Linked DNA regions of Homo sapiens: all the other regions are linked to region 2. The links are contacts of gene promoters, found by promoter capture Hi-C in blood cells and fetal thymus (Javierre and others, 2016). All regions are on one chromosome and are shown on one strand. The core of a region is centred on a gene start or on the middle of the fragment in contact, and the rest is flanking DNA. Distances in the headings are between cores, read along the strand shown. Region 1 overlaps ZNF507 (zinc finger protein 507). Region 2 holds the start of ANKRD27 (ankyrin repeat domain 27). Region 3 holds the start of GPATCH1 (G-patch domain containing 1). Region 4 overlaps GPATCH1 (G-patch domain containing 1). Region 5 overlaps CEP89 (centrosomal protein 89). Region 6 overlaps DPY19L3-DT (DPY19L3 divergent transcript). Region 7 holds the start of WDR88 (WD repeat domain 88).

The links. Contacts are between HindIII fragments. The CHiCAGO score rates a contact against its expected background, and 5 or more counts as called.
Region 1: a fragment that was not itself captured here is called in contact with the fragment with the promoter of ANKRD27 in region 2 in 1 of 17 cell types (total B cells); the score reaches 7.6 in total B cells.
Region 3: a contact is called between the fragment with the promoter of GPATCH1 here and the fragment with the promoter of ANKRD27 in region 2, in 10 of 17 cell types (fetal thymus, naive CD8 T cells, activated CD4 T cells and 7 more). The highest score is 16.2, in fetal thymus.
Region 4: a fragment that was not itself captured here is called in contact with the fragment with the promoter of ANKRD27 in region 2 in 8 of 17 cell types (total CD4 T cells, fetal thymus, total CD8 T cells and 5 more); the score reaches 10.0 in total CD4 T cells.
Region 5: a fragment that was not itself captured here is called in contact with the fragment with the promoter of ANKRD27 in region 2 in 4 of 17 cell types (total CD8 T cells, total CD4 T cells, non-activated CD4 T cells and 1 more); the score reaches 7.2 in total CD8 T cells.
Region 6: a fragment that was not itself captured here is called in contact with the fragment with the promoter of ANKRD27 in region 2 in 1 of 17 cell types (total B cells); the score reaches 5.4 in total B cells.
Region 7: a contact is called between the fragment with the promoter of WDR88 here and the fragment with the promoter of ANKRD27 in region 2, in 2 of 17 cell types (erythroblasts and fetal thymus). The highest score is 6.9, in erythroblasts.

Annotation. Positions count from the first base shown.
Region 1 is chr19:32,360,353-32,363,052 of GRCh38, reverse strand. ZNF507 (zinc finger protein 507) reads right to left here. Exons shown (of 7, transcript NM_001136156.2): 5 at 2,435-2,549. Among named protein-coding and RNA genes, the nearest start is that of ZNF507, 16 kb to the right of the region's middle. The HindIII fragment of the contact is 1,320 bases long and covers 757-2,076 here.
Region 2 is chr19:32,673,832-32,676,531 of GRCh38, reverse strand. It overlaps ANKRD27 (ankyrin repeat domain 27), which reads left to right and starts at 1,352. Exons shown (of 29, transcript NM_032139.3): 1 at 1,352-1,461. It overlaps RGS9BP (regulator of G protein signaling 9 binding protein), which reads right to left and starts at 684. Exons shown (of 1, transcript NM_207391.3): 1 at 1-684. The coding sequence starts at 268. RefSeq lists enhancers at 1-37, 808-917, 805-1,424 and silencers at 438-497, 1,068-1,797, 1,818-1,867. The HindIII fragment of the contact is 4,511 bases long and covers 1-2,700 here.
Region 3 is chr19:33,079,915-33,082,614 of GRCh38, reverse strand. GPATCH1 (G-patch domain containing 1) reads right to left here and starts at 1,434. Exons shown (of 20, transcript NM_018025.3): 1 at 1,349-1,434. The coding sequence starts at 1,421. RefSeq lists an enhancer at 1,210-1,539. The HindIII fragment of the contact is 10,253 bases long and covers 1-2,700 here.
Region 4 is chr19:33,107,715-33,110,521 of GRCh38, reverse strand. GPATCH1 (G-patch domain containing 1) reads right to left here. Exons shown (of 20, transcript NM_018025.3): 11 at 506-805. Among named protein-coding and RNA genes, the nearest start is that of WDR88, 23 kb to the left of the region's middle. The HindIII fragment of the contact is 7,119 bases long and covers 1-2,807 here.
Region 5 is chr19:32,945,274-32,947,973 of GRCh38, reverse strand. All of the region lies in intron 5 of CEP89 (centrosomal protein 89), which reads left to right. Among named protein-coding and RNA genes, the nearest start is that of CEP89, 25 kb to the left of the region's middle. The HindIII fragment of the contact is 3,728 bases long and covers 1-2,700 here.
Region 6 is chr19:32,400,772-32,403,471 of GRCh38, reverse strand. The region is part of intron 1 of DPY19L3-DT (DPY19L3 divergent transcript); the gene reads left to right. Among named protein-coding and RNA genes, the nearest start is that of DPY19L3-DT, 3.4 kb to the left of the region's middle. The HindIII fragment of the contact is 3,509 bases long and covers 1-2,700 here.
Region 7 is chr19:33,130,798-33,133,532 of GRCh38, reverse strand. WDR88 (WD repeat domain 88) reads right to left here and starts at 1,419. Exons shown (of 11, transcript NM_173479.4): 1 at 1,088-1,419. The coding sequence starts at 1,363. RefSeq lists an enhancer at 1,413-1,582. The HindIII fragment of the contact is 21,697 bases long and covers 1-2,735 here.

The sequences.
Region 1 (2,700 bases), core at 167-2,666, 310 kb after region 2:
AGGACAACGAGGAGAAAGTCCTAGAAACATCCTGGAATAGAACATGTTAATCCGTAATGCTCTGCGACCAGAAATCCCATGAAGGCAAAGGATGGTGAGTATTTAAAGAAAGTTAAAAGGAGAGCCATGACATTAGAAAATAAGACTTATGAGGAAAAACTGATAATAAGTACAAAGAGGGAGATATGACAAAACTGTATCTAAGGCATAACCACACCAAACCCAGTGACAAAGTGGAGTGTGAATAAATTTGGAAAATAACAGACTGAGAGTTCTCTGATGTTACACAAAGAGGATGCTCACGGGATGTTGCCCGTTGGTAGGAAGACCCTAGGACAACTGCAATGAATCCTATGAATCTGTGAATATTTTAAGAACACAAGAAAACATCCCTGAGACACTGACAGCTATCAAAATGAATCTTTAAGCTGCAAGACTGATCTAATAAAGCAGATGTAAAACCTTCAACAGAACTAGAATCGCTAACCTTTTTCCTAAGTATTTGAGGGTTTACTTGCTTATTGTTTGTCTACAAGTTCCATGACAGCAAAGATGACGTCTGTTTTGTTATGACTGTAGTCCAAGAATCTAGCACGGCCCCTGAAGCATAATATTTGCTCAATAAATATTTCTCCATGAATGAAAGAACAATCTAATTCTGGACCCGGAGAAATGTTATTTTCTTCTTACTTAAATCACATGAATCTGGCACGGTATGTCTAAATTCAAGGATACCAAAAATATAAAGGCAAAGCTTTCTCCTCCTATCAGGTAAACTAGTGTTCCCTGTTTCCATCACATTCTCCTAAACATTTCCCAGTATAAATCACGAATGTAAATATACTCAGTCCCACCTATTAAATAGACTGATTGGACATGGTGTAACCATGTAATCCCAGCACTTTGGGAGGCCAAGGTGGGCGGACACTTGAGGCCAGGAGTTCAAGACCTGGCGAAACCCCGTCTCTAATTAGCTAATCATGGCACATGCCTGTGGTCCCAGCTACTTGGGAGGCTGAGGCATGAGAATCACTTGAACCCGGGAGGCGGAGGTTGCCGTGAGGTGAGATCACTCCACTGCACTCCAGCCTGGGTGATGACAGAGCGAGACTCTGTCAAAGAAAAAAAGGAAGGAAGGAAGGAAGGAAGGAGGGAGGGAGGGAGGGAGGGGAGGGAAAGGAAAGGAAGGAAAGGAAGGAAGGAAAGGAAGAAAGGAAAGGAAGAAAGGAAAGGAAGGAAGGAAACGAAGGAAGGAAAGGAAGGAAGGAGGGAGGGAGAGAGGGAGGGAGGGAAGAAAAGGAAAGGAAGGAAAGGAAAGGAAGGAAAGGAAGAAAGGAAAGGAAGGAAGGAAAGGAAGGAAAGGAAGGAAGGAAAGGAAGGAAGGAAGAAAAGAAGGAAGGAAGGAAAGAAGGAAGGAAGGAAGACACTGAGGAGGACTGAGGCAAGGTCAAACACCTTCCACAGAGTTTTAAGACTCTGCAAACAGATGTACTTTCTGAAGAGTGATTATAAGTAAGTCTGCTGGTTTGCAAATTAAGCACATATTAAATATTCGAAACCATACACAGATCACCACACTTTGGGATTAAACAATGACCTTTTATGGCACAATCTGTCAGGTTTTCATTGAGATTAATACAATAACTTTCCCACACTCACTTGTATCATATCTACAGAATCTGGGGAGAGAGTTAAACCTGCTAAGTTTTGACAAGGGGGTGAAAGTTCATGCGCATTGCCTAGCACTATCACTGAGAATGCCTATATTTTCTGAAATATATATCTGAATTTGCTTTTGGGAAAAATCAAGTAATGAAATTAAATGACTTATTCTACACATACTAGCTTAATTTTGAAAAATGGACTCTTTCATAGAAAATTTTATTGCCTTTAAGTTTTAAGGATCTTTTGCTGAATACTGAGTACCTTACTGCCAAATTACTGAAATGAACTCTAAGGCATTGAAAATTGCTATGAAATTTATACCCATATGAAATGAAAACATAAAATTGACAGATAAAGACAATTTCCTATGTATCAACTAGACAAAATGCCTACTGTCCTAAGATTCAAGCTTAAAGTTCACATCTTAACAAATCAAACAAGACATAATACCAGCCAGGTGCAGTGGCTCACGCCTGCAATCCCAGCACTTTGGGAGGCTGATGTGGGAGGATCCCTTGAGGCCAGGAGTTCGAGGCTGCAGTGAGCTGTGATCATACCACTGCACTCCAGCCTGGGCAATACAGCAAGACACTGACTCAAAAAATAAATAAGTAAATATATAAAACAACAAAATATAAAACCAATTAGTGAAAATTTCTTACTTCTTAACCTGTGTTTCAGTAAGTGCTATACATTTTTATTTCATTTTATTTCTTTAATATAAAATATTTTAATACAAACATTAAAATTCTAGAATCATAACACTTACCTGTACGGCTTATCAGAGTTATGGATTCGCCTGTGGTTTCTGACACCAACATATGTTGTACTTGTATAATCACACACATCACATCTATATTGTTTCTGGACTGAAGACTTATTCCCTAGACAAGGTATTTCAGAGTTTTAGTAGCAGGCTTTGACAAGATTCAAATGACAGCATTTACATTCCATTGTAAATGAAAATTTATACCACACAGTTGTATTAATATTTCAATCACGGCTTTCTCACTGTTTTAACAAGTCTGAAGTGGT
Region 2 (2,700 bases), core at 103-2,602:
CCAGCAGGTCCAGGCAGCCCGAGAAGGCCACCCAGAGCCGCTCGAACTCGGCGCGCTCGTCGGCGGCCAGGCCCCGGTCGCGCAGCACAGCAGTCAGCCGGGCGCAGGTGGACACCGCCAGCTCCTGCGCCTTCTGGCGCGTCTTTTGCAGCTCCTGCCGCAGGTTCTGCGAGTCCGCCGAGCCACCGACGGTCAGCACCAGGTGGTGGTAGCACGCAGTCGTCTTGTTGAGCCCGTCCAGCAGCGCCTTGCACTCCTCCCTCGCCATCGCGGTGGGCTCCGGCTGGGCCCGGCCGCCCGCGCCCGTTAGCCTCCCCCTCAGCGCGGCAGGATGTGGCTAACCCCCATCCCGGCCTTGGGCCGCGCGGCACGAACGCTCTTCATGGTCCGTGACTCGCTCGGCGCTACCGCCAACGTCCACGGAGCCCGCCCGGGACCCTCGACGTGCGCCTCTGCGGACGGGGCGCGCAGAGGGAGCCCCGTTAGCGGTCCCCCGCTCCCTCGTCCATCCTCCCCAGGCGCACTCCGAGTCACACGTCGTGTCTCTGCACCGCCCTGGCCTCCACGGTGGCTCCCTGCGAAGCTGAGGGTGCGGTCCCCATCCTCCGTGGGTGCCAACTCCGGGGCAAGCAGGCTGCAGAGCCGCGCGCTCCGCCTTAGGCGCTGCCAAGGGCGGCCGGGTAGGGTTTCCTAGGACCCGCCCACCCCGCTCGTCCCGGCCGGAGCTGCCACCCCCTGGATCAGTGGTAGGCGGGGCTCCACGCGGGGAGGTCACGTGTGGGTGGCCCATCCCTCCCTCCCCTTCGCCCCATCCGAGTTCTGGAATGTTAGCGCTCGGGAGATCCAACCCGTTCTATTTTACGGATGGGGAAACTGAGGCCCAGGTAAAAAGCGGGCCAGGCTCCCGCGGAGTTTTTGCCTGTGATGGGACTAGAACCCAGCTATACTGACTCCCGGACCCTGTCGGCGACAGGACGTCGGGTGCCCCGCAGGACTGGGCACCTCCGTGCCCCAAAGCGAGCAGTGACTGGCAATCCGAGGGGCTGGGCGCCGCCGGGGTCAGGTGTCCCTGCCGCGTTGCGCTCACGTTGGTCGGTGCTTCCAAGCGCTAACCCCACCTCTAGTGTCAGCCCGGCTCCCAGCCCCGCCCCTCACGTTCTGGGCACGCGCAGTTGCGGGCGTGGGGCGGGGCCAGCTGGAGTAGGAAGCGTAGGGAGCCGCCTGAGCCCCGCCCCCGGCTGGGCTGGACTCCATGATTGCTCTGCGTACACGTCACTCTGGGAAACGACGGTTTCTCATTGGGTCAGCTGTGGCGCGGCTCCGCCCCACGGCGGAGTAAGGGGTGGGCTATAGGGCCAGATCGCCGCGCGAGGGTGGTGGGCATCGAGGTCCCAGCAGCGGACGAGGGAGGTGCCGCCGTCGCCCAGGATGGGCTGGGAATGAAGCGATGTAGCCTTTTAAGTAAGTGTCCTCGCGCTGGCCTCCTCCTGCGCCTCCCCTCCCGCGGGATGGCTGCGCCTCGGGGCGCGGCGGCCGGGCGGGGCCCGGAGAGTGAGGGGGGAGGGGCTCCCTGCTCTCCGGAGTCCGCTCCCGGGTCCGCCAGGTGGCCCCGCGCCGCCCCAGCCCCCGCGTCCCCAGGTGGGTGCCCGGTGCGCAGCCGGCGCGCCCTGCCCACTCCGCCCCTCGGGTCTGGAGGAGGGGAGCGGTCGGCGCGGAGAATGCACCCTCCGAGCCTCGCTGCGTCGACACCGGCGGGTGTGGCCGGGGTGCCGGGTCCGGCGGTTCGGATCTGGCGGGGCGCGGGGCGGTCGCCGCGCGGTTTCCCGGAGGCCTAGGGTCTGCTGGAGGGGAGCGGCGGGTGGGGGTCCGAGCCGCGCGCGCAGCGGTTGTGGTTTCCGGGGGGTGATGAGGGCGCGGAGCGGGGAATCCCTGGCTGCCGGCCTCTCGCAGGGCGGGGGGGTCTCTGCATTCCCACAGGTAAAGATTGTTAAAGGAAAACTCTTAAGCACCGAGAGATGTTCCGGATTCTGAGTCTGTTCCGTCTTGTGGTTGAAAATGGACTGCCCAGGAGCACACGAGCCACGCGGTGCCCCCTTGGCTGCCCCACGAGGTGCAGGGGACGTGGGCACTCGCGGCCTGTGCTGGGCGAGGGAGCAAGGGACGGGTCTTCGCTGAGGATTTAGAGCATGCAGGGAACGAGGGCTGCTGGCAGTGCTGGAGGGACTGTGAGGCTGCAGAGAGCTCAGATTTTACAAGTTGATGGGTTTCATGGATAGAGGCCCCTATTTTGATTAAAAAATGCACTCTTCCCACTGGCCGAAGAGTAGAGCAGTGGATATTTTTTTTCTTTTCTTTCTTTTCGTTTTTTTCTTTTTGAGACAGGGTCTGGCTCTGTTGGCTAGTCTGGAGTGCAGTGATGCCATCATAGCTCATTGCAGCCTCAAACTCCTGGACTCAAGCAATCCTTTCACCTCAGCCTCTGTAGTAGCTGGGACTACAGGCGCATGCCACTATGCACGGCTAATTTTTAATTTTTTTTTTTTTTTTTTGTAGAGATGGAGTCTAGCAGGTTGCCTAGGCTGGTCTTGAACTCCTGGACTCAAGCCATGCTCTCGTCTTGGCCTCCCAAGGTGTTGGGATTACAGGCACTAGCCACCACGTTTTGCTGAGCAGTAGCTGTTACGTTTCGAGATCAGCCTG
Region 3 (2,700 bases), core at 185-2,684, 410 kb before region 2:
ACCTCAGCCTCCCAGAGTGCTGGGATTACAGGTGTGAACCACTGTGCCTGGCCCCTTTCTCAACCTTTTGTAAGCCGAGGGTAGAAGAAGGGCCAGTATCCAGCAGAAGTTTCCACCAGAACTGTTTGTAGGAAATAAAGGGGGCATAAGTGGAGATATCCCAGAAGTACAATCAACCTGGCAGGATGTGGTCAGGGTGAAAAAAGGGAGGGGACCCCCACCAACAGGAGGTCTGCAAATAAATTGTGGCCCAATGATTCCACCATTCTTCCTCTGCCTTCCCTACAGGGCTAGCACAGCCAACAGCCCTTACTGGACACTCAATACATAACTTGCTGAACAAGTCAAGTCGTTAAGTGGAACAGACCAGAAACACAGGAGAGAACCTTGATTCATCTTGCCCCTCACCCCCACATTCCACCAGCAAGTATGGTCAGCTCTGCTTTCAAAATATATCTCCACCCAGACCACTACACACCACCACCACTGCTGTCCCATCCATGCCACCATCATCTCCTGACCTCTTTTTGCTAATCTCCCTGCTTCACTCTTACCCATCCCCAACCAGTGTATTCTCAACATCAAAGATAGAATAACATTAAAAATTGGCCGAGCACAGTGGCTCAAGCCTGTAATCCCTGCACTTTGGGAGGCAGAAGCGAGAGGATCACTTGAAGTCAGGAGTTCAAGACCAGCCTGGGAAACAGAGCAAAACCCTGTCTCTAAAAATCATATATATATCCCTCCCTGTGTAATTTCCCATGACCCTAACCCTAACCCTAATCCTGCACTTAGTACAAGATCCAAACTCTTTACCCTACCAAGTAAGATCCAGCCCCTGTCAGCCCCTCTGACATTCTTTTCTACCTGTCTCCCCCGCTGTCATCTGCTGCAACCATACCCGTCCTGCCTGCCCCTCAATTTCCTAAACTGGCTCCCACTTCAGGGCCTTTGCCACTTTATGTTCCTTCTGCCTGAAATGCTTTCCCTCCAGATTTGCTCATGGTTGTTTTCTTCCTCGGTTTCAAGTCTGAGCTCAAACGTCCTCTCTCGGGGAAGACACTGCCTGAGCACCCCCCGCTCTCACACTAGCTATTCCGTCATTTTCTTGTTTCTATCTCGCCGCCCCCTTGTTCGGCCACGCTTGTGTCTCCCGTCCCTGTAAACCTCTCTCTGTCGCTGCAGAAGGTGAGCACCCCGAGAGCGCGGCTAACGCCTCCCTCGTCGCCGTGTTCCCAGCGCTGGGAACGATCTAACAATGGTCCAGCACCGACTTGTGCTTTTGTGGCCCGAATCCTGGGCCCTTGGCCTGTTTTCCACAGGCTCCGCCGGCCCACGCGGCCCGCACCTTCTTCCAGAGGCTCCAGCCCGGTCCCATAGCTGACCAGATCTTCTTCGCTGTCACTGTCCCGCGCCGCCATCCTGCTCTTCCGGGCCCCGCCCCCTCGCTACGGCGGCCTTGGCAGGCCAAACGCCTTTCCTCTTTCTCCTCCGCGAACCCCGGTGATGCTGGAAGGCTGGGTCCGCGGGCGGGGGAAGGTGTCCTAGCGGCCCGAGCCTGCGCTCCGGATTCTCAGGCCCATCCTGTGGTAGGCCGTCCCAGGCAGGAGTTGCCTCGGAGGATTTGGCAGCCACGACATCCCATCCTAGCCCCGCGATGTGCGGGTGAGGAGGAGACTCCTGGCATAAGCTGGAAGCCACCCAACTGTTCCCTGCGAGGCGACACCGATGCCTGCCCAGCCCCCTACCCCCGTCCCTCGCGCCAGCCCCCTGCCTTGGCAGCAGTCACTGCCCAGCCCCGTCCACTCCCACCGCCCACCCAGCCACCTCCAGGGAAATGGCTGAGCTCCCAGATTTCATGCTCGCCCCGTGGGGCTTCGCTTTATTTTTATTATTATTATTTTTTACTTTTATTTTGGGTTCAGGGGTACATGTGCAAGTTTGTTATATAGGTAAATTGCATGTCGCAAGGGATTTGGGTTACAGATTATTTCCTCCCCAGGTAATAAGCATAGTACCCAATAGGTAGTTTTTCCGATCCTCACCCTCCTCGTACCTTCCACCCTCAAGTAGGTCCACCCTCAAGTAGGCCCTGGTGTTATTCCCTTTTTTTTTTTTTTTTTTTTTGAGACAGAGTCTCGCTCTGTCGCCCAGGCTGGAGTGCAGTGGCCGCGATCTCAGCTCACTGCAACCTCCGCCTCCCAGATTCAAGTGATTCTCCTGCCTCAGCCTCCTGATAGCTGGGATTATAAGCGTCCACCCCACCACGCCCTGCTAAATTTTTGTTTGTTTGGTTGGTTGGTTGTTGTGGTGGTTTTTTTTTTTTTTTTCTTGAGACAGAGTTTCACTCTTGTTGCCCAGGCTGGAGTGCAATGGCACGATCTCGGCTCACCTCAACCTCCGCCTCCCGGGTTCAAGCGATTCTCCTGCCTCAGCCTCCCTAGTAGGTGGGATTACAGGCATGCACCACTATGTCTGGCTAATTTTGTAATTTTTTTTTTAGTAGAGACGGGGTTTGTCCATGTTGGTCAGGCTGGTCTCGAACTCCCCACCTCAGGCGATCCATCCACCTTGGCCTCCCAAAGTGCTGGGATTACAGATGTGAGCCACCGCACCCGGCCATTTTTTTTTTTTTTTTTTTTTTTTTTTGTATTTTTAGTAGAGACTGGGTTTCACCATGTTGGCCAGGCTGGTCTTGAA
Region 4 (2,807 bases), core at 262-2,761, 430 kb before region 2:
CTGCATACAACAGCAACCCCTTTCCTCATTCTTGCCTCATTCTTGCCCTATTTACTTCACAGATCACAAAGTGATTGTTTTCCCTCTGTAACGGTTCAATAGCTAACTATTGTTTTAAGTCATATTTTAGACTATGAGTCAGGAATGGATGGTTAGGATCTTCGGATGAGGTGGAAGATGATGCTGATATGAAATGTGAATGCAATGCTTGTAGCAGTCAAGCACTTGCAAACACCAAACGGCCTGTAAGTACCGGCCACCGCCAGCTGTGTTCTCTACTTAAACAGCTAGCTTTGGCCTGAGATATGGAGGAACATAAGCCAACTGTTCTTGCTTTCTGAGGTCAAGAGCCAAGGCCTGAAACCTTTGCACTATTTGCAGCAGGATAAAGCAAAAACACTGACAGAACAGGATACCTCAACTGTAAATATGGGTCTAGGATGAGAACAGTGAGAATATGACCCCGCCCGGGCCGAGATTTGGGACACCCAGGCCCAGCACCCACCTTTCTGACCCTGTTTCATGTGTACTAAGAACTCGTCGTATCGCTTTTGCTTTTCCGGATCTTTGGCGAAAGGCTTGAAGTTGCTGGCTTTTAAGGTGGCCGTCCCACCACCTAATGCCATGTTCCAAGAGCAGTGCCCAGCAGCCGCTGCAGGGGAGAGCTGGGCTCTGCTGCTCTGAGCGTTCTGGGCCAGACTCCTGGCCTTGAGCTGAGCTGCTTTCAGGTCAGTTGCCTGCTTCATTTCTTTGATTCTCTCTTTGTCTTTTTGGGACAGAAATTCTAACACTGAAGTAGCTGAACCTAAATAAAAACAGTAATTAGAAGAGATGAAAAGAGCCATGAGACAACCACATTTACGTTTCTCTGTACATACATTTCAATAACACAAATTTACATAATTGGGGATGAGGATTTTATGTTTAGTGTTTCATTTATATTAATATGTCCCTGTGGACTAGACAGTGATAAAAATTGAGATTCTTCTTCTTATTATTATTATTATTTTAGATGGAGTCTCGCTCTATTGCCCAGCCTGGAGTGCAATGGTACCATCTCAGCTCACTGCAACCTCCTGGGTTCAAGCAATTCTCCTGTCTCATCCCCACCGAGTAGCCGGGACTACAGGCATGTGCCACAATGCCTGGCTAATTTTTTATATTTTTAGTAGAGACAGGGTCTCATCATGTCGGCCAGGTTGGTCTCAAACTCCTGACCTCAGGTGATCCACCCGCCTCGGCCTCCCAAAGTGCTGGGATTACAGGCGTGAGCCACCACGCCTGGCCAATTCCTATGTTTTTTTTGAGACATGGTCTCGCTGTGTCACCTGGACTGGAGTACGGTGGTGTGATCATGGCTCACTGCAACCTCCACCTCTCAGGCTCAAGTGATCCTCCCACCTCAGCCTCCTGAGTAGCTGGGACCACAGGTACACACCACCATGCCCGACTACTTTTTGTATTTTTTGTAGACGGGATTACGCCATGTTTCCCAAGCTGGTCTCAACTCCTGGGCTCAAGAGATCATCCCACCTTGGCCTCCCAAAGTTCTGGGACTACAGGCATGAGCCACTGTGTCCAGCCAAGATTCCTGTTTTATAGTCAGCAAAAATGGAAGTTAATACATGCACACTTACAGGGCACGTGAGTGATTCCAGGATGGGGAACCTGACATCCCCGGCTCCAGACCTGCAGTCCACCACCACTAGCCCTGGTTCCGAGTACAGCTCCCCAGCAAGCCCTCACCAATGGGACAAACACTCATGAGTGCCAGCTCTATGCCAGGACCTGGCCCAGGAGCTTGGAGGGCAGTGGAGACACGAAAGAAGCCCAGGAGCAATACGCTGGCCCTCAATAGAGGAGGGCTATGAAAAAAACAGGACGATGTGACTGAGGGGGGCTTGTGTGAGCGGGCTGGTAGAGGGGACAGGCAGATAACCAGATTATATGGTGGTCGGGGAAGGCTGGAAGAAAGTAACATTCGAGATAAGTCATAAGCTAAAAAAAAAAAGAGCCAGATTCACAAAAATATGAGGGAAGAACAGAAAGGGAGGTACAGCAAACACAAAGGCCCTTAGGCAGTGTCATGGATGACGGCGTGTTCCAGGGGAGGAAAGGAGGAGGAAGACGCTACACTGTGGGAGGGTAAGGGAAGGTGGTGGATGGTGCAGCCTGAAAGGCGGGCAGGGGCGGGGCCGCACAGGGCCTCGTGGGGAGCCTGGAGGTTTCTGTAGGTGGGAGAGGTGTTGGCTGGTATAGTTGGCCTCATCCAGCTGCTGGTGAGGGGAACAGTCTACGGGAGATGGACAGGAAACAAGGAGACCACCAAGGAGACTGCAGCAACGGTCCAGGTGGAGGGGTGGGGCTCAGACCCGGGAGGCCACGGAAATGCAGATGAGTAGTGGACAGAACCCCCACACGTGTGGGTAGAGCCGAGAGGACTCACTAAGGGCCAAGGAGGGTCAGGGAGGGTGCGGGAGGACCGAAAAGAGAGGAGCTAAGAATTAGGCCTCCCGGGGAAGCGGGGAGGGATAGCATTAGGAGATATACCTTATGTAAATGACGAGTTAATAGGTGCAGCACACGAACGTGGCACATGTATACACATGTAACAAACCTGCACGTTGTGCACATGTACCCTAGAACTTAAAGTATAATAAAAAAAAATAAAAATTAAAAATTAAGAAAAAAAAAAGAATTAGGCCTCCTACATCCTGGTCCGAGCAGTGGATCATGGTGGCACCACTTCCTGAGATGAGAAGACTTAGATGAGGAAGCGCAGTGTGTGATGGGGGTGGGGAACCAAG
Region 5 (2,700 bases), core at 19-2,518, 270 kb before region 2:
AAAACATCAGCCAGGCAAGGTGGTGCACGCCTACAGTCCCAGCTACTCAGAAGGGCGAGGTGGGAGGATCACTTGAGCTCGGAAGGTCAGGGCTGCAGCAAGCCATGATTGCACCATTGCATTCCAGCCTGGGTGACAGAATGAGACCCTGTCTCAAGAAAATAAGGCTGGGTGTGGTGGCTCGCTCCTGTAATCCCAGTACTTTGGGAGGCCAAGGTGGGTAGATCTCTTGAGCTTAGGAGTTTGAGACCAGCTTGGGCAACATAGACTCTCTCTACAAAAAATGGACATCCCATCTCTACCAGAATACAAAAAAGTAGCCAGGTATGGTGGCATGTACCTGTGGTCCTAGCTAGTCAGGAGGCTGAGGTGGGAGGATTGCTTGAGCCCTGGAGGCAGAGGCTGCAGTGAGCTGAGATCGCACCATTGTACCCCAGCCTGAGTGACAGAGTGAAACCCCATCTCAAAAAAAAAGGAAAAGTTATTCTGCAGTCAATTGCTTCTGGATATTAGGTTGTTTTTAAAGTACAAGGTGCTGTTTTTTTTTGCCATGTTAACTAGGCTGGTCTTGAACTCCTGGGTTTAAGCAATAGAGGTAGGGATAGGATAGGGTCTCCCTAGTCCCAGTGCTTGGGGAAAGACCTGGCCCACAGTGGCCCACTAGGAAAGATCTGTTGGGTGAATGAGTACGTGGACATATATCTATTTGATTATCCCAATGAGAGAATTCAGCATGTTATAACAAAGGTAGGGAAAAGTTTTCAGTTTCCTAAGAGGTGGCTCACATTTGAGAAGTGACAAGGAGAGCCAGGCATCAAGTGGACAACCAATAACTACTTTATCAGCAGCCCTAGAGTTGCTCGGGCTCAGGGAAACGTTTCTGTAAATCATTTCTCAGGGAACACAGAATGCCAGCCTCATAATCCTGGGGCCAGAAAACACCTGTTGGTCAGTTGGCGTATTTTTTAAATATTAGATTTATGTAAAAGGTGCATCTCTTTTTAAATTACAAAAGTAATACTGTCTCACTGTAAAAAAAATACATAAATATATAAAGTGCATTAGTCCGTTTTCACGCTGCTGATAAAGACATACCCAAGACTGGGTAACTTATCAAGAAAAAGAAGTTTAATGGACTCATAGTTCCCCGTGGCTGGGGAGGCCTCACAGTCATGGCAGAAGGTGAAAGGCACATCTTACATGGAAGCAGACAAGAGAGAATGAGAACCAAGAGAAAGGGGTTTCCCCTTATAAAACCATCAGATTTCATGAGACTTATTCACTACCACGAGAACAGTATGGGGGAAACCGCCCCATGATTCAATTATCTCCCACTGGGTCCCTCCGACAATATGAGGGAATTATGGGAGCTACAATTCAAGATGAGATGTGAGTGGGGACACAGCCAGACCATATCATAAAGCTAAACACACTTAATTGTGCTCCCACAGATAAGATTTTTAACAATTTAGAGAGTATATGTATATAAAGTGCATGCTGTTTTGTTACCTTTCTTTCATCTCACAACACATGCCAAATGTCTTTCTATGTCCCCAGATTTGGTTCTCTCCTGCCTTGTGTAACATCTGCATTGTGTGGCCTGATGTAGCATATATCAGTCAAGGTCCAATCAGGAGTCAGAACACACACAATGACTTGAAGAGGGAAAATTTACTATAAAGAATGATTAATAATAACAGGTTTGGGAGCTGCGCATGGTGGCTCACACCTGTAGTCCCAGCTATGCAGGAGGCTGAGATGGGAGGATCACTTGAGCCCAGGAAGGAGGTCAGGGCTGCAGTGAGATGTGATAGTGCCATTGCACTCCAGCCTAGGTGACAGAGTGAGACCCTGTCTCTAAAAATAATAATAATAATAACAACAGGATTGCCTACTAAGGAGTAAAGAGAATACTGAAGAATTCAGGAGTAGCAGCTCAGGGGAGCAGCCACTGCTCCTAGGGCTGATGCTTCAGGAGGAAGCAGCTCTGGAGGAGCCTCAGCCAGAACCCAAGATCCACACCTTCCTGGAGAGGATGTAGCTGTGGCCTGCCGGGTGGCCAAGAAGTTTGCTGAGGGGCTGCCCTAATGAAACTCACTGGGATAGGGGGCCAGGAGAAGCCACCATGGGGAGGTACTGCATGTTGCTGGCCACCCAAAAAATTAAAGAAAGGATCTGCGCATGAAATCCCATTTGTAATCCCAGCTCCTTGGGAGGCCAAGGCGGGAAGATTACTTGAGCCTGGGAGTTCGAATCCAGCCTGGGTAATATAGTGAGACCCTTGGACTCTAAAACCAGAAATTAAAAAAAGAAATTAATGCATGGAAGGAAGAGCCAGAGGAAGCTGGAATCAGAAAGCAAAGCCCCAGCTCCTCCAGCGTCTCTCCAGCACCCTCTACAGAGGAAGCCTTCCATGGTACCAACTGGCTGGGTGGAAATGCTGCAGTAACATGAGCTGGCCATGAAGGTGGATTTGGAGATGAGAGGCCGTGGCCACCCACATACTTGGGAACGTGCACCTGGCACACAGGTGGTGGTTGGGAGGGATTGCAGCTCCTGCAGTGATGCCTGGTTTGTGGTGGGCATTAAAAGCCCCTGCATACTTCTGAAAAACCCCAGACCCCAAACTGTAATTTAGTGGCTCAGGGCTGGGCCCAGAGGTCTGTACTTTTTTTTTTTTTTTTTTTTTGAAACATAGTT
Region 6 (2,700 bases), core at 87-2,586, 270 kb after region 2:
TAGGGCTAGGGGACCACTAATCTTTAAGAAGTTGATATGGTTAGGCTTTATGTCCACACCCAAATCTCATCTTGAATTGTAATTCCCATAATCCCCACCTTTCAAGGGAGAGACCAGGTGGAGGTAATTGAATTATGGAGGCAGCTTCCCCCATGCTGTTCTCATGATAGTGAGTTCTCACAAGATGTGATGGTTTTATAAGGGGATCTTGCCTCTTCGCTCAGCACTTCTTCCTGCCTCCTTGTGAGGAAAGTGCCTTGCTTCCCCCTTTGCCTTCTGCCATGTTTGTAAGTTTTCTGAGGCTTCCCCAGCCATGCTGAACTGTGAGTCAATTAAACTTCTTTCCTTTATAAATTACCCAGTCTTGGGCATTCTTTGTAGCAGTATCCTTTATAGCAGTATGTATAGCTGTATGGACTAGTACAGAAGTTTTCCAGATAATTCTGTGCTCGGAAAAGTTTGGGAACCACAGCAGAACCTTGTTACTCAACATGTGGTCTGTGGGCTGTGCAGCATGGGCATCACCTGGGGTCTTCTGAGAAAAGCCAGGTCTCAGGTCCTACCCAAGACCTGTGTAGCCAAAATCTGCATTTTAATATGACCCCCAGGTCATTTATGTGTACATCACACTTTGAGAAGCACTGCACCAGAAATCTTTTAACACTGTTCATTACATCCATCCCATGGAAGTATCTTGTCTTGGGATCCCGAGGGTGTGAGTTCTTCCGTCTTACTGGCTTTTTCCTGTCTGATACATGATGTCCATTTTAAAAATTTTATTTATTTTAACTTTTTGAGGTAGAGTCTAACTTTGTCACCCAGGCTGGTGTGCAGTGGGGTGATTTCGGCTCACTGCAACCTCCGTCTCCCGGATTGAAACGATTCTCCTGTCTCAGCCTCCTGAGTAGCTGGCATCACGTGCTGGCCACCACGCCCGGTTAATTTTTGTATGTTTAGTAGAGACAGAGCTTCACCATGTTGGCCAGGCTGGTCTCAAACTTCTGATCTCAAGTCATCCACCTGCCTTGGCCTCCCAAAGTGCTGGGATTACAGGTGTCCTCCACTGCGCCCAGCCCAGTGTTCATTTTTCAATTGTTTGACTTAGTATAAACACTCTCCATCATTCCTGCCTTCTGTGACAACAGACTGTGCGTGTTTCCTCTGTCTACCTTTCAGGCATTCCTTTTAAGTTTCATGCAGCTACTCCTCCTCCCTCCTCCCTTCTCTTTCTCTTCTTTCTTCTTTTCTTCTTTCTTCCTCTTCCTTCTTCTTCCTCTTCCTCCTGTTCTTCCTCCTCCTCCTCTCTTCTTTCTTCTTCTCCTCCCTTCTCCCTTTTTGGAAAGAGGACTTACTGTGTCATCCAGCCTAGAGTGCAGTGGCTGAATCATGGCTCAGTGCAGCCTTGCTCTCAAAGGCTCAAGCAATCCTCCCATCTCATCTTCCAGAATAGCTAGGTTACAGGCATGCACCACCATGCCTGACTAATTTTTTAAAAATTTTTTTGTAAAGATTGGGGGTGGCAGGGGGTCTCTCTGTTGCCCAGGCTGGTCTCAAACTCCTGGGCTGCAGCGATCCTCTTGCCTCAGCCTTCCAAATTGTTGGGATTACAGGCATGAGCCACCATGCCTGGCCTCCTCTTCCTCTTAAAAATCAATGATTCTGTGGCCCGTGGATCTGATTTCCACTGATACTCTGATAACTCCTGTTTTTATGTCCAGGTGTATCTCCTGGTCTCCAGGTGCCATATGTCCACTGCCTATTGGACATTTCCATGTGTGTAAACACCTCAAACTCAACATGTTAAACCTTTTTCTAATCCCCACACTTGCGGTTCCTTCTGTGTGCTCCATTTACCTTATTGCTCAAATCAAGAGCCTAGAAGCCATCCTTGATTCCTCTCTATTGTGTAATCCACACATCCAATCATCCATTGAGTCCTGTTGGCATTTATCTCGTAAATACCTCAGATCTTGTTCACTTTGCTCATCTCTGTTGCCACCACCGTAGTCCATTTACCTGTATGTAATAACCATAGTGATCTTACTAAAATATAAATCCCTTGGAGGCGTTTTGGCTTTATTATAAAAATTAAGCTCCATGACACAGCTTGTAAGGACTGCCACGAATCAGGCTCTGTTTCCCTCTTCAACCTCTCCTTCACTTTCTATTCACATAAACCTCTGTCAGAGGTTTGTCACGTGGCTTATAAAAAGTCTTAAACCCTCTTTAATTGACTAGGTACTCTTCAGCCTTTAGACCTCAGCTTACACGATCTGTGCTGCCTCATGTTTATCCTCATACAGTATCCGGTTCCACAGAATCATGGTTTTTCTTTGTGAACAACAGAATACCGTGGAAGTGACAGTGTGGGACTTCTGAGGCTAAGTCATAAAAGACATCCCAGTTTCAGCCTTAGCCTCTCTTGGATTGCTCACTTAGCGGGGATGCCAGCCACCATGTAGTGAGGACACTCAAACTGCCTGTAGAGAAGGCCACGTAGGCAACAGCCTGCACCACCTTGGCAGCCATGGGAGTGAGCCATCTTGGAAGTATTAGGTTGGTGGGACATTAAAAGTAATGGCAAAAACCAAGATTACTTTTGCACCAACCTAATAGATCGGCCAGCTACAGGTCAGCCTTCAGATGGCGGCATAAGAGATCTTGGGCCAGAAGTGCCCATCTATGCCACTCCCAAGTATT
Region 7 (2,735 bases), core at 170-2,669, 460 kb before region 2:
TTTTGTTTTGTTTTTGAGATGGAGTGAGATGATCTCAGCTCACTGCAACCTCTGCCTCCCGGGTTCAAATGATCTTGCTGCCTCAGCCTCCTGAGTAGCTGGGATTACAGGCACGCACCACCATGCCTGGCTAATTTTTGCATTTTTAGTAGAGAAAGGGTTTCACCATGTTAGCCAGGCTGGTCTCGAACCCTTGACCTCAAGTGATCTGCTCATCTCGGCTTCCCAAAGTGCTGGGATTACAGACATGAGCCACTGCACCCAGCCAGTTTTTCTTTCTTTCTCCTTCTTTCTTTCTTTTTCTTTTTCTTTCTTTCTTTCTCTCTCTCTCTCTATATTTATTTATTTATTTATTTATTTATTTATTTATTTATTCTGGAGACAGTCTCGCTCTGTTGCCCAGGCTGGAGTGCAGTGGCACAATCATAGCTCACTGCAGCCTTAAACTCCTGGGTTCAAGGGATCCTCTTGCCTCAGCCTTTCAAGTGGCTGGGACCACAGGTGCGCCCCATCACACTGGGCTAAGTTTATTTCTTGTAGAGACGACCTCTCACTATGTTGCCCAGGCTGGTCTCAAACTCCTGGGCTCAAGTGATCCTCCCACCTGGGCCTCCCAAAGGGCTGGGATTACAGGTGTGAGCCACCTTGCCTGGCCCAATTCATTGTTGTTATTATTATTCTGAGTTTCCCGTTTCTTCTGACGCTAACTGTATCTCCTGGACGGGGAGAGCTGAGCCACCGACCCTTGGGCTGCAATTAGGAGCATCACTGTGGGTGGGCCTACCTACGGAGACTCCAAGGTCTAGATGGGGTCACATGGTGGGGCAGAGCCTCCTCCCAGCGAAGAGTCCTGGTTCCCCAGCAGGTGGCAGTGCGGGGAGCCCCCGCCGGCATCCCCAGCACGCCCTGCTCAGGTGGGTCTGACCTTTGCCCACAGATGTACCACAGATGGGGAAATGGGCCTAGGGCCTCGCTGGGGGTCCTGGTGAAGCCAGGTGGGTTTTCCATGGGTCCCCCGACAGCTCGAGCGCCTTCCTCCCGTGTGGGGAACAGGCCAGTGCCCCCTCACCCCAGCGGCGGTTCTGACCTTGGAGAGAGGGTCCTGGTCGCCCCAGATCAATTTCTCCGGCACCTGGTGCTTCTCAGGCAACAGATGCGGTGGTGGTTCCCTGTCCAAGGCCAGGGGGTCGAGGGTGGCCAGCAGGTGCGTGTGCGGGATCGACAGCTTGAAGCGGCCTAAGGCCCTCGCCATGGTCCCCCAGGACAGCTTGCCGGGACAATACTCGCTGGCGGGGGCGGAGGGTGGCGGCAACTTGCATTCCCTGTCATGGGCTGTCGGGGAGCACCGCGGCGGGGAGGCCATCTCGAAGCCCGGTCCGCCGGTGGCCGCCGACAAGCCTGGATGGGAACGGTGGCGCCGCGCGCCCGCGCCCGCGCCCGCACCAAGCCCTTCGGAGGCGCGCGCTACGCTGGGCCCGCGACTTCGCTGCCTCCTCGCCCGCTGGGTGAAAACTAGTGCCACCCCGCGCAGCACAGGTTACCTATAGAAAAATGGGCTTTGCAGCCGGGCGCGGTGGCTCACGCCTGTAATCCCGGCACTTTGGGAGGCCGAGGCGGGCGGATTACCTGAGGTCAGGAGTTGGAGACCAGCCTGGCCAACAGGTTTAGTGAAACCCCATCTTTACTTAAAAAAAATAATAACAAAAATTAGCCAGGCATGGGGGCGTGCGCCTGTAGTTCCAGCTACATGGGAGGCTGAGGCAGGGGAATGGCTTGAACCCAGGAGGTGGAGGTTGCAAAAAAAAGAAAAATGGGCTTTGCATTCTGGGAACCAGGCCGAGCCAGCAAAACCAGCACCCCAGCCTCCAGCCCTCCGCTGTGGTTTCCCTGGCTCCTGTCACAGGGCAATTTCTTCATGTCCTCTGCCTGGGTACAGCTCCTGGCCAACCCACTTCATGACAAAACAGAAAAGGTCAGTAAGTTATGGGGTAGCCCCTGCATGAAATAAGATGCAGTTATTAGGGGTGGGTTTACAACATTTATAATAGATGAGGGAAATATCTGTCACAACCCCAACAACAGTGACAGGGAATAAAATGCTACCACCAGTCAGATAACAGCCCCATAGCTAGAAAAGGACAGGGTGGAATTATTCAAAATATTGAAGAAGGGTGTCATCTTTGGATGATAAAACTAAAAGTGATTTTCTTCCTTCTTTTTTTTTTTTTTTTTTTTTGGTGGAGACAAGAGTCTGTCACCCAGGCTGGATTGCAGTAGCGCAATTTCGGCTCACTGCAACCTCCACCTCCAGGGTTCAAAGGATTCTCGTGCCTCAGCCTCCCACACAGCTGGGATTACAGGTGTATGCTCACCAGACCTGGCTAATTTTTTTGTATTTTTAGTAGAGACAAGGTTTCGCCATGTTGGCCAGGCTGTTTTTGAACTCCTGGCCTCAAGTGATCCGCTGGCCTCGGCCTCCCAAAGTGCTGGGATTACAAGCATGGGCCACCGCACCCGGCCTCTTCCTTCTTTCTGCTTTTAAAATTGTTGTGATCTATGATGCTACTTTCATAATGTAAAATACAAATGCTCAATACTTTATTTTTTGTGGAGACAGGGGTCTCTATGTGGCCCAGGCTGGTCTGGAATTCCTGGGCTCAAGCAATCCTCCCGCCTCGGCCTCCCAAAGCTCTGGGATTACAGGCATTAGCCATCACACCTGGTCTGCACTTTAT